Regions from separate parts of the Homo sapiens genome. Here all the other regions are linked to region 4. The links are contacts of gene promoters, found by promoter capture Hi-C in blood cells and fetal thymus (Javierre and others, 2016). All regions are on one chromosome and are shown on one strand. The core of a region is centred on a gene start or on the middle of the fragment in contact, and the rest is flanking DNA. Distances in the headings are between cores, read along the strand shown. Region 1 overlaps COL19A1 (collagen type XIX alpha 1 chain). Region 2 overlaps COL19A1 (collagen type XIX alpha 1 chain). Region 3 overlaps LMBRD1 (LMBR1 domain containing 1). Region 4 holds the start of COL19A1 (collagen type XIX alpha 1 chain).

What was found. The method cuts DNA at HindIII sites, captures the fragments that hold promoters and counts their contacts. A CHiCAGO score of 5 or more calls a contact.
Region 1: a contact is called between a fragment that was not itself captured here and the fragment with the promoter of COL19A1 in region 4, in 2 of 17 cell types (naive B cells and total B cells). The highest score is 10.2, in naive B cells.
Region 2: a contact is called between a fragment that was not itself captured here and the fragment with the promoter of COL19A1 in region 4, in 2 of 17 cell types (total B cells and naive B cells). The highest score is 8.6, in total B cells.
Region 3: a contact is called between a fragment that was not itself captured here and the fragment with the promoter of COL19A1 in region 4, in 2 of 17 cell types (naive B cells and total B cells). The highest score is 10.7, in naive B cells.

The regions. Positions count from the first base shown.
Region 1 is chr6:69,968,164-69,970,914 of GRCh38, reverse strand. All of the region lies in intron 11 of COL19A1 (collagen type XIX alpha 1 chain), which reads right to left. Among named protein-coding and RNA genes, the nearest start is that of COL19A1, 100 kb to the right of the region's middle. The HindIII fragment of the contact is 2,171 bases long and covers 360-2,530 here.
Region 2 is chr6:69,952,009-69,954,899 of GRCh38, reverse strand. All of the region lies in intron 9 of COL19A1 (collagen type XIX alpha 1 chain), which reads right to left. Among named protein-coding and RNA genes, the nearest start is that of COL19A1, 87 kb to the right of the region's middle. The HindIII fragment of the contact is 5,402 bases long and covers 1-2,891 here.
Region 3 is chr6:69,773,449-69,776,164 of GRCh38, reverse strand. The region is part of intron 3 of LMBRD1 (LMBR1 domain containing 1); the gene reads left to right. Among named protein-coding and RNA genes, the nearest start is that of LMBRD1, 22 kb to the left of the region's middle. The HindIII fragment of the contact is 2,396 bases long and covers 215-2,610 here.
Region 4 is chr6:69,864,991-69,867,848 of GRCh38, reverse strand. It overlaps COL19A1 (collagen type XIX alpha 1 chain), which reads right to left and starts at 1,293. Exons shown (of 51, transcript NM_001858.6): 1 at 1,209-1,293. RefSeq lists silencers at 256-325, 336-385, 606-655. The HindIII fragment of the contact is 9,714 bases long and covers 1-2,195 here.

The DNA.
Region 1 (2,751 bases), core at 196-2,695, 100 kb before region 4:
TACTCCCATACCAATTATCATTGGCCACAGATAAATTGCTATGATTTTTAAAATCATAGTTATTATTTTGCTCCATCTGTTCTCTTTATTTTTTAAGTCAGCTGTCAAATCAAACAAGTAAGTCCTTCCTAAAAATTGTAGAAGTTTAGTTTACATGTTACTAGGGTAAAGGAAACAATTGTATAACACGCTGATGTTCAGTAGAACTCTGCAAGGTGAACCAAGACAGAATTCACGGGAAGTAAGGTAACATGTAGACAGTTGCTTTAGAGTGATGAAGGGAAAGTGCTATATTTATAATAGCAGTATTTAACATACTTGCATTAGTTTTAAATAATAGGCATAATCACCAAGAAGCTTTAATCATGAAATCCTAAAAAAAAATTTCAACTTTGACTTGTTTTTTCCATTTATTCTTGTATCAGTTTTAGTTTAGATAAAGTTAATAAGTACATTTTGCTATGTAAAAGTACAAAACCATTCCTTGGTTTAATTATTTGATATATTGTGTTTCTTTTTTCCCATTCTAATTAAGATTTTTAAAATAATATTTTCCTATTACATATAAAGTATTTCTACCATTTCAAATTCAAAATATGTTTTGACACAGTCTGCAAGTCCCACTATATAAACCTAACTTTAAGAATTATATTTTAGGCCATGGGAGAAGGAAAAAAATGAAGTAAAGTTGATAAATCTGTTTAATCTTTCTACTCTACTGTTAATTTAAAATAAAATTTTATATCATTTGTGTTAGATTTATTATAAAATGGCCCCTTTTTTCACCTCTCCATATATTTACACCCTAGGCAATGTGTCCGTGCAGCTTCTCTCATCAGGAGGTGGAATCTATTTTCCTACTCCTTGAATCTAGGCTGGGTTTGAGACTGGCTTTGGCCAGTAGAACATGGTGGTGATGGAGGTGGGGGCAAGCTAGTTCTGAGCAAGGAGGCTAAAGAGGCTTTATATGCTTCTGCTTCCTCTTTTTGGATCCCTGCCTTCACCTTGAGGACAAGTCCAGGATAACTGTTGGAAGATGAGAGATCATCTGGAGTGGAGACATGTTGTCTAGCAGAGGCCAAACTAGCCCAGCCACCCTCAGCCAACCTGGCAACTGAGAAGAGATACACACTCTTGCCCCAGAATCTGCTGGGGATTGGTTCCAGGATCCCTGCTGATAACAAAGTCCATGGATGCTCAAGTCCCTTATAAAAAAGGAAGTAGTATTTGCATATATCCTCCCATATACTTTAAATAATCTCTAGTTTACTTATAATACCTAACACAATGTAAATGCTATGTAAATAGTTGTTAGATTATATTGTTTTTTATTTGTATTATTTGTTATTGTTGTATTGTTATTTTTAATTTTTATTTCTCAATATTTATTTTTGATTCATGGTTGGGTGAATCCACAGATGCATAGTCCCTGGATGCACAACCTGCCGATAACACAGGCGAATTGTATGAATGAACGTAGATAAGATCAACTAAGACAAAAAAAAATCACTGAGCTAAGCCTAGTGTAAATTTCTAAACCATATAATCACAAGCTAAATAAATGAACGTTTTAAGTCACTACGTTTTGGGGTGATTTGTCACATATCAGTAGCTAACTACTATAGCCTCCTGTCTTTTATTTACTTATTCACAAGAAAAATTAGGAATTAATATTACACAAATAAAGATATATAATAATTCTGTCAAATAAATTTTTGTCAAAATATTAAGATTTTATATTACTTTTGTATATTGGCTGCTGAGGATATTAACATTTATTGAACATCTTTTATTCACCGGCACTCATTTAATTCCTGCAGTCATTCTGTGAGGTAGTAATTAACTTTATTTTATAAAAGAGGAAACTATGATAAAGAAAGCTAGGAACATATCCAAGTTCACACAGCTGCCATTACAGAGCTGGACTGGAACACAGAACACAAAAATATGTGAATCCATTTATTTTACGATATGTCACCATCACTTTCAAAATAAACATCAAGTCTAGGCTCTTTCAGGAGTGGTACTCCAGAAACTAAGAATGTTGATTCCTTGTTGAGTGATCTAGATGCTGCCCCAGAATGTCCTGAATAATCGTTTACGTATATTATATAAACATCCTTATTTGGGCTTTTTCTCACTCAATACCAAATTTTAAGTGGCCCAAAGTCACAACCACTCATTCAAATTCTCATGTCCTGCATGTAATTACCATAACAACTGAATGAGAAATTGACAAAAGTAAAAAGATTTTTCAGGGTAAAAATCCTCATTTATTTAAAGCCATAACTGTTGTTTCTAGTAGCAAATGATCACTATTGATTTTCTGAGTTACTATAATTTCATGACATTTAATGCTAGAAGTCAATATTTTAGAAAGTTGCTTGCAGGTGACATTATTTATTTGTGGTACTAGTATAAAAATAGTCTGATTATCTAATTTCTGCTGTTACAAGTTAAATATAAAAGTTAAATCTATCTATCTGAAATAAATGAACAAAATGCTACCAAATAAATTATCCAACAAGCTTATGAGCCTAGGACTATATGAGACATATCATAATTGCTGATATATTTTTAATGCTGAAAACAAAAAAGCAACAGAATAACAAGAATGAATTCACTGCTGCTATTTTTAATATTCATTTGATAAGAAAACAATATCAATGATTAACCTATGAAATAGATAAGTGAAGACATTTTCTATTAAGCATTTTCCATTCCCCCATCACATCTTCAAAAGTAACCACT
Region 2 (2,891 bases), core at 379-2,878, 87 kb before region 4:
TTCCTCGTGATGAGTAATTTATAGTTCTATTCCATATCAATTACTTCTACTGGACCTTAAATGTACTGAAGCCATTGGTTACTTATCTTTAGCCCTGAAGTAAATGGTTATGAAGATATGGAGAAGGAACACACCCTAACAATGTTGTAAGAAAGTTAGGAGATTTTCAAATCTAGTTTGGATAAAAAGAAAGCAATATAACTTGAATATTTGTGTTTGAGAGAGAGGGAAGAGCATACTTTCTCCAAGAGAAAATGGAAAGCAAATTCTGGAGATGCACACACTTCTATTATATTTAATTCTAGGAAGCAATACCTGTAAACTTTGTTGTGCAAAGAAGAGATTCCCTTGTTTCCCTAAATTATGCTTCTGTAGAAAGTACGAAGGACTTTCACTGAAGTGTTGCTGGCATTGGGGTGCTTTTCCGATCTTTCCTCAGCGAAGTTTTCTAACAGTCATTCTCTATTTCTCTTCTCTATTTCTGGCTTGGGGCTAAGTCCTCGAATTCTGAACAACTCAACAAACACTTATCCAGAACCAGCCAGGTACCATACGCTGGGTCAGTTGCTGGGATTAGAGATGAGACAGACCCCAAGTCCTTCTACTCCAGGAGCTCACATTTTAGCAGGGTGTATAGACACACTCTACATTGGTGATATAAATAAAGTGCTATGTGAGCTGAGTGGATAAGCTGTAATTTTGCCTGGTGGCCTGGGAGAATTCATGAAAAAAATGCATGTGTTTTGAGTTTAATAATCTGAAAATGCAGTGATGGAGATAGAAAAGAAAGATACCAATCATCTGTGATCATCTGCTCAAATCTTCTAGTCTTCCCTAACAGGTTCATTCAATACCTTACACCGGCTTTGGCAGTCCCTGATGTGTCTGGCTAAAAGCTCCTTTAGATAGAGCCACTTTAAGGAAACTCTAATATCTAAAATCATAGATGTCTTTATAAAATACCAGTTATATGTTTAAATCCACTGTTCAGTATCTACACCAAGAATAAAATAATTAGCCACTTAACTATGCAGAGAAACACAGAGTGTGTGAGCTTTCTTATGGCAATATTTTAATATTTACGTGCTAGAAGCTGGTAGTACATTAAACCAAACAGGAACATTAGCAGACTAGGTTCTTGAAATCTGACTGTTTAGCAAATAAAAGTCAAGTGCCTGGGTGCCAGATACATGGCATGTGGTGAGCTTGTCATCCATCTGTTGTGTTCCCTGCCAACTGCTCTACTTGGGGTGTGAGTGGAAGGCATTAGAAGGGAATAAGAAACCATTAAGAAATAAAATCAGCTGCAGAGTGAGCAAGTTTCTTTTTCTTTTTCCTGTCCTTCTATTACTTTGTCCTTCTTATGTTTCTGCTTATTTTAGTGCTATATTGTATCAATATATGTCTATAGATAAGACAATTAAATGACAGTTATTCCATGTAAGAGCAATAGTTTTTCACTGATAATTCAAGTTTTATTCTCCTACCTTTAACAAGTAAAGCCAACAAGTAGGCTTACAAAACTGTTTTCTTTGTGGTCATTTTTTTCTATGAATACTAATTATGATTAAAAATTCAATCCTGTGTGTAGATTTGACTATACCTTCACTCATTAGAGAATTTTCTAAATTACACAGATATACAGGTGATTCTCTGCTTAAGAGGTATTTTTCTCTAAAGTGGAAAACATTCTTGTTTTATAAAGCCTAACAATTTCATAGGCAGGAAGTATTCCATTGATAGAATAAAGCTAAGTTGTCTTTTTTTTTCCTCCTCATTTAATGGCCTCAATTTCTATAATAAATTGTCACATGCATTAGGCATTTTAAATTATGTTTTAAACTTAGGAAGTCTAAAATTAAGCACAGAAAAATTAGGTGAGGCTAGAAATATAGAGAGGAAGCCAAATGGCTTAAAATTCTCTAGCTTTTATACTACTTGCCTATAAGTTTCTGAGTCTCTGAAGCATTAATGCTACATCTGGACCAGCACTGTTAGAAAGTTCATTATAATTCACAACAGTGATTGGCCTTGTCTGCACTTACATAAACTGTAACAGCATCTGCCTTTATTTTCTGAAGCTGCAGTCTTCTCATAAAATGTCTTTTTAGGGAAAATCAAGATTCAAAGATCATAGTCATTTCATTTTCCAGCAGAAAAGAAATACAAAGACTGTTAGGGAACAATGGATCTGCCTCATTCAGTCTCATCTCACTGCAGTGCTGAGGGCTTCAGAGTTTATGGTGAAAAGACCCATCATACAAAGCATATCCTCATATAATGATGATAGTTAGTCCAGCTATTTTTAAGACATGCAGCTTGGCCACTCTCTCATCATGTTATCAGATGTACTTCTTAAGTGCTTTAATATATACAGCTTTTTTTACTTCCAGAAGGTTGATTTATTTTATATTTTTATAAAGCCATGGTACTAAGTTAAACAATTTTGTTTTTGATAAATAAATTATATATATTTATTTGGTGGAGAATGTAAGAGAAAAATTTCTACATTAGGTGTTGCATTAAGGTTAATCTGGAGAGTGCCCATGATTGAGCTGCCTGGACGTGGGCATGCAGGGTAGATTAAGAATCTCCAGAGAGTCAAGCGCGGAATGTTTGAAAACACACTTCAAATGTAACCTGTACTTGGAAACCAAGCAAATTTTTTTCCATGATACTTATTTTGGAAGGTAAAGCTAGACAAAACCCTCTCATTTGGTGAAAAACCATATGCATAATGATTCTTAATAGGTGAACACAATCTTATGAAGGTGGGGGAGTCAGAATCCCTAGGGTCAGATACAGTTTAAAAGGGGTCCTTGGATTTAAAGGGAAGGGACACAGCCCTCCTTGGAGCAGGATGTCCGAAGCAAACTGCAGTTCACTCACTA
Region 3 (2,716 bases), core at 163-2,662, 92 kb after region 4:
AATAAGACAGTTGACATTATGCCTTATTCATTTGGAAAATATTTGTTCAGTGAATAATATAGGTCTTCTGAATGTTGACACATATCATTATACATTGAAAAAACCACATTTGTTAATATTGCCATTATTCTTATCAGAAAAGTATATATTGAGATGCTGTAAAACTCAAAGATAGATTCAAGTTTTCCAACATTCTAATTTTCTCTTGAAAGCTTCAGTTTTATCATTGGTGACAAATACTGTCACTTATTTCCTTTGGAGTGATAGTCTCACTGTTCATTTTTGAGAAAGCCTGTCTAATAATCAAGTCTGGATAACCATTGCTTATCTGTCAGTTGTTCTTTCAAGTAAAAATGATGTTCTTTGAAAAAAAAGTGGCTACTGTAGCTCACAACTCAAAGAGCGCAGACAAAATTGAGATGTTGTGAGACACAAGTACAGCATGGTTTATGTGTATTTCCTGTCACACAGAATATTAAAAGGATATATATGCAAATGTGGACACTAGAATTTTTACTGCTTCAAAAGGGACTTTTGTGAATAAAAGGCTCAAATCTCCCTCCTCCCTGAAGAATACAATGACTTCTAGTGTAATTTGAGTCTACTATCTTGATTCCTGTAAAGGGGCAGCAGTTTTATCCACTGTTGTTTTTGCACCATTAGTTTAACTGTAAACATAGTGGAAAGGCACATAATATCTTAGTATCATTATGCAAACAGTTTTGATGTTGTGAATACCCTGAGAGGATCTCTGCAAATCCTAGGGTCTGGAAACCACATTTTTAAGGATCTTCTGTTATATTAATGGAATTTGGGGTGTTTTGTTCTGAGAAGCTGGCAGAAATCAGGCTGCCTGCTGCTTCTCCTTGTGAGCACTCCCCAGCTGTTGATTAGTTATTAATAATCCTCATTAACTGAAGCTACTTACAAAGCAGATTCAGTTTTCTGGAGCTTGTTGAAGTATGAGAGGGTAAAGTTGTTCATTTTCATCCTATTCCCTGCACACCTAAGGACTCTGATCAGGTGACTCCCTCATCTGGGAAGGTTATGCCCGCCCCAGAAACTTTAAGGATTTGTACCTTTTATTTCTTTTGAATGTTTTATTTAGTTCTTCATCTTTTCCTTCCTTCCCTCCCTCCCTCCCTCCCTCCCTCCCTCCCTCCCTCCCTCCCTCCCTTCCTTCCTTCCTTCCTTCCTTCCTTCCTTCCTTCCTTCCATCTCACTGTATTTTGGGCAGGAGTGCGGTGGCGTGATCATAGCTCATTGTAAACTTGAACTCCTTGGGCTCAAGCAGTACTCCCACCTTGGCCTCTCAAAGGGTTGGGATTACAGGCATAAGCCACCACACTCAGCCTACTCTTTTCTTTTATAAAACTGCCCTCGTGTGAGTTTTGAGTTCTGAGTTTTGTTTAATTTTGTATTTAGACCTGCTATGCAGGCTTAGCAGTGACTTCTGAGTTCTGTTTAATTTCATATTTAAGCCTGCTTTGCAGTCCTTTTATCCCTTATGTTGTCTGTGTTTTAGCCTTTTATCTAATTTGTTTTTATTTCAAATTTATTTTTATCTTTATATTTGGCCTCTCCCTATTTCTACAACCCCTGCATGCATGCAAAAGTAAGAAGTGAGAAAAAACATTAAGTAAAAGGAAATTCATGTAAAAGAAATTAATGAAAGGCGGGGGTAAATGAATTAAAACTATCCCAAACCCTAAGCAGGAATTATTTGAGGCTATTTTTGTTCAGTTCTTCTGTAACTGGCCTATCAATTCCTCATGTTATTAGCCTGTTCTCCCACTGCTGATAAAGACATACCCAAGACTGGGTAATTTATAAAGAAAAAGAGGTTTAATGGGCTCACAGTTCCACATGGCTGGGGAGGCTTCATAATCATGGTGGAAGGCGAGGAGGAGCAAAGTCACATCTAACATGGTGGCAGGCAAGAGCATGTGCAGGGGAACTCCCCTTTATGTAAAACCATCAGATCTCGTGAGACTTAATCACTGTCATGAGAACAGCATGGGAAATACCCGTCCCCATGATTCCATTACTTTCCACTGGGTCCCTCCCATGACACATGGGGATTATTACAATTCAAGATGAGATTTAAGTGGGGACGCAGAGCCAAACCATATCATCCACATAGACTTTCTTCTCTTGACACTAGTTTTCAGGCTATCATCTTGTGTGTAGATGTAAATTGAATCATATAGTTCATAATGTTTTGTGTTTGGCTTCTTCAGTGTGTAACATTATATTTGAAACATCTATATTGATGCAGGCAACAGTACTCTGTTGATTCTTATTACTATATTAACATACCGTAGTTTATCCATGCTAGTGTTGATGAAAAATGGGGTTGTTGACAATATTTGGTCTTTTCAAATGCAGCTGTTAAGAAGATATTATATATGTACATTTAAAAGATTTTTACTGCATTGTTTTCCATTGTATGGATGTTCATAGAAAAATCCCAGTTTATTAGGTGTTTAATAAAATTTTTTTTTGCTGTTAAAACAATTTTGTAGTAAAAATAGGAGTGAGTCAAAGTATACACATATTTAGATGAATTAAGTTATGGAACTAAGGGAGAATAAGATGGACCGGGAAGCTTTTCAGTTCCAGTTTCTATGCCATACTTTTAGAGCACCTAAGAGAGTTTTTTGGAAGTTTCTCTTCATTCCCTATTGATTAGGTGCTGATAATTTGTATCTGGAAA
Region 4 (2,858 bases), core at 44-2,543:
TATTATCAGCATTCTGGGCCCTCCTCTTTTTGCTCTCCAGCCCACTGTCCCCTGAGGCTGACAAGGCACGCTGGTCCCCTCTGCCTCTTCACCTTCTCATCAAATGAAGCTCCTCGGGGGCTCCTGTGGCACCCGCCTGTCCCCCAGCTCCTCTGCCCACCCTCTTGCCGGCTTCCCGCTCCCTCCGTAACCTCTAAGGGGGTTCGCTTACGCGCCCGCCTGCTCTCGGGGAGCTAGCGTGCCCGACGGCGTGCTTGGTTCCGGGCCAACAAACTTCCTCGCGACCCTGCAGCGCCCTAGCTGGGCCGCCCGGCGCCGCCTCCTGGTTCTCGGCCGCTGTGGCTGCGGCGCCGGCGCGCTCTCGGCGGTGGCCTCGGGACTCTGACAGCGGAGGCGGCAGAGGCTGGGGCCGCGTCTTCCTCGCGCCGCGACTGGGACGTTCCGGCGGCGGCGGCGGTGGCTGCAGGGAGGACTGCGGGGACGGCGGCGGCGCTGTGGCCGACCGCGCTGCGCATGCTGCAGGGTAATTAAGGAACAGGGCCGGACGCTCCGGAACGTGGTGGGGCTGGAGTCCGGGAATCCCCGCCCGCGCCCGCGCCGCCCCCCAGAAGCCGCACTTGGGAAAAACACCCACATGTGGAGTAGGTAACCCCGGGCCGGAGGGCACCGCACCGGAACCCCGCGTCTCTTAGCTTACGCCGCTTAACTGGCTGCCTCGCTTCCAGGGCTAACACCGTCAAAAAAAAAAAAAAAAAGCGCTCTAACGGCATGAATTGATAGTGAGTTTGTTTTACTCCTTTAACCCCCCATTTTTTTTGTAATGTATTTGATGTCTGTCCCTACCCGCATCAGCAGTGCTCCATAGTTCCGCTTCACAGACACACATAGCCAGAAAAACCACCTAGAACTTAGGTGTAACGCATGAAGCCTGCATCATGTGAACATAGGAACACGAACTACATGGTATGTACCACATGAGAGTGGCCGTCTCCTGCCAAACGTTTTTGGTCCCATCCTTAAGGCCCCTATGGAAACGTATGCAGGTGTGCATTATTTATCCACCTAAACATATTTCCATGTGTAGCACAGTTTTTACATTTTCTTGAAAAGCAGATGCACACAGATAACTAGGAACACGAGCAGATGACATAGCCCGGGCATGTGTGAGAGGGCAAGTGCAGAGCCGGTCGCAAAGCCGCGCAGCTTACCTTGAATTCGTATTTGAGCCCCTCAGAGGCGCAGTGGAGTCCGGACAGGGCTGCGGCACCGCCGAGGAGTGAGCTCCCTGCGAGTGGGGAAGGGGGACGCATCTCTGCCCTTATTAGTCTCTCCCAGTGTGACCCTCCCACTCCGCGAGGACAGAGGACTCTGCAAGAAGGTACTCAGCCAACTCAGGCACAGGTTTTCTTTAATGACAGCGATGTCGCCTTAGAGCTGGGAGTAATGCCTTTCAGGTTTATGTTTTACTAGCAGTTTCACAGATAAAATGACGGTTGGATGCAAATGCCTAGAGTTTCTCACTTCTGATCATGAAGTGTCTTCAAAGTATTATTGTATGTGGCAAACGTTCACGAGTAGGTAATTGGCTTTTTAACGGTTGAGCTAAGAAAATATATCATTTATGTTTCATTTTTTCACTTTTATGTCAAGAGTTTATATAAAGTTGATTAAGGCAGTCTGCCCACCTTCTAATCACGCTCATATGTAAACGTTTGTGTGGCTTGGTTTTTCTCAGTGTCCACAGAAGTATTTTGTGATTTTAAATACATCTTTCCATGGGTTGGTGCTTCCAATCTTGGCTTTTGAACTCTTTTGGGATCCCTTTGAATATGTGAAAGTGTCATTTTCCTGCAGATTTCTGTGTAGGTGCATGTATGTGTGTGTAGAGAGAGTATATATATATTTGTAGGCATATATAGTAGGTTTATATACATATATAGGAGGTATATATGGATACTTGTAGGCATATATATTTGTAGGTATATATACATATATAGTAAATTTATATGTATACATATAGTGTATGCATATGTATGTGTATATATGAAAAACAGAATGATTTATAGAATTCAGAAGAGTAAACCAGGCATTAGAAAACAGATAAACTGGTTTTACATTTTTATTTCAGTATTGCCACAGTGGGAGAAATAGGATAAATTATATTATTGATCCACAATGGTGAAAATCATCAAGCTTAAAAGTTACCTTAGAACCATAGAAATACACTTCACATATCAGAGCTCACAGATCAAGGAATAAATAAAATCAGGCAGGCAAAAAATAAAGATGTTAAGAAAAATGTTAAAAGATAGCTCCTTTCCACTTCATTGGAGTGAAACCATTAAAGTATCACTTGTGATTTTTAAACTTCTCTCTCAACCTAATCAAGATACCTGCAGTTTTAGAGTTCGGCATTCATGGTGATGCAAACCATGTTTCTATGTCAGGATTTAAAACCACTTGATACATTTCCTTCTCATATGATTTTCATCACTAATTTTTGGCTGACTGTGGAAAGAGGCCAAGGAGGGAGGATATTGCATGAGTCACGCTACTCAAATGGCCATTTGAAAAACATGATTCACAAACCTTCATTAGACTTTTGGTGATCAGTCTCTATTTTTTTGAAGTATTATCCCATTTGATTTTTTTCTTTCTCTAAGCAATTTTACTTTATATACCTTGCCATCACTAATGAATTGAACTAAGAGCATCCAGGCTTTATTTCTTTGTCAGACTATTAAATTCACCTTATTTACACTTAATTGAAACTATTTAAAGTAATGCTTTAAAACTACCTAAAAGGAAGTCCACAATTTTGTCTCTAATTTTTGTTTTAATACAAGTAAATCAAGTTT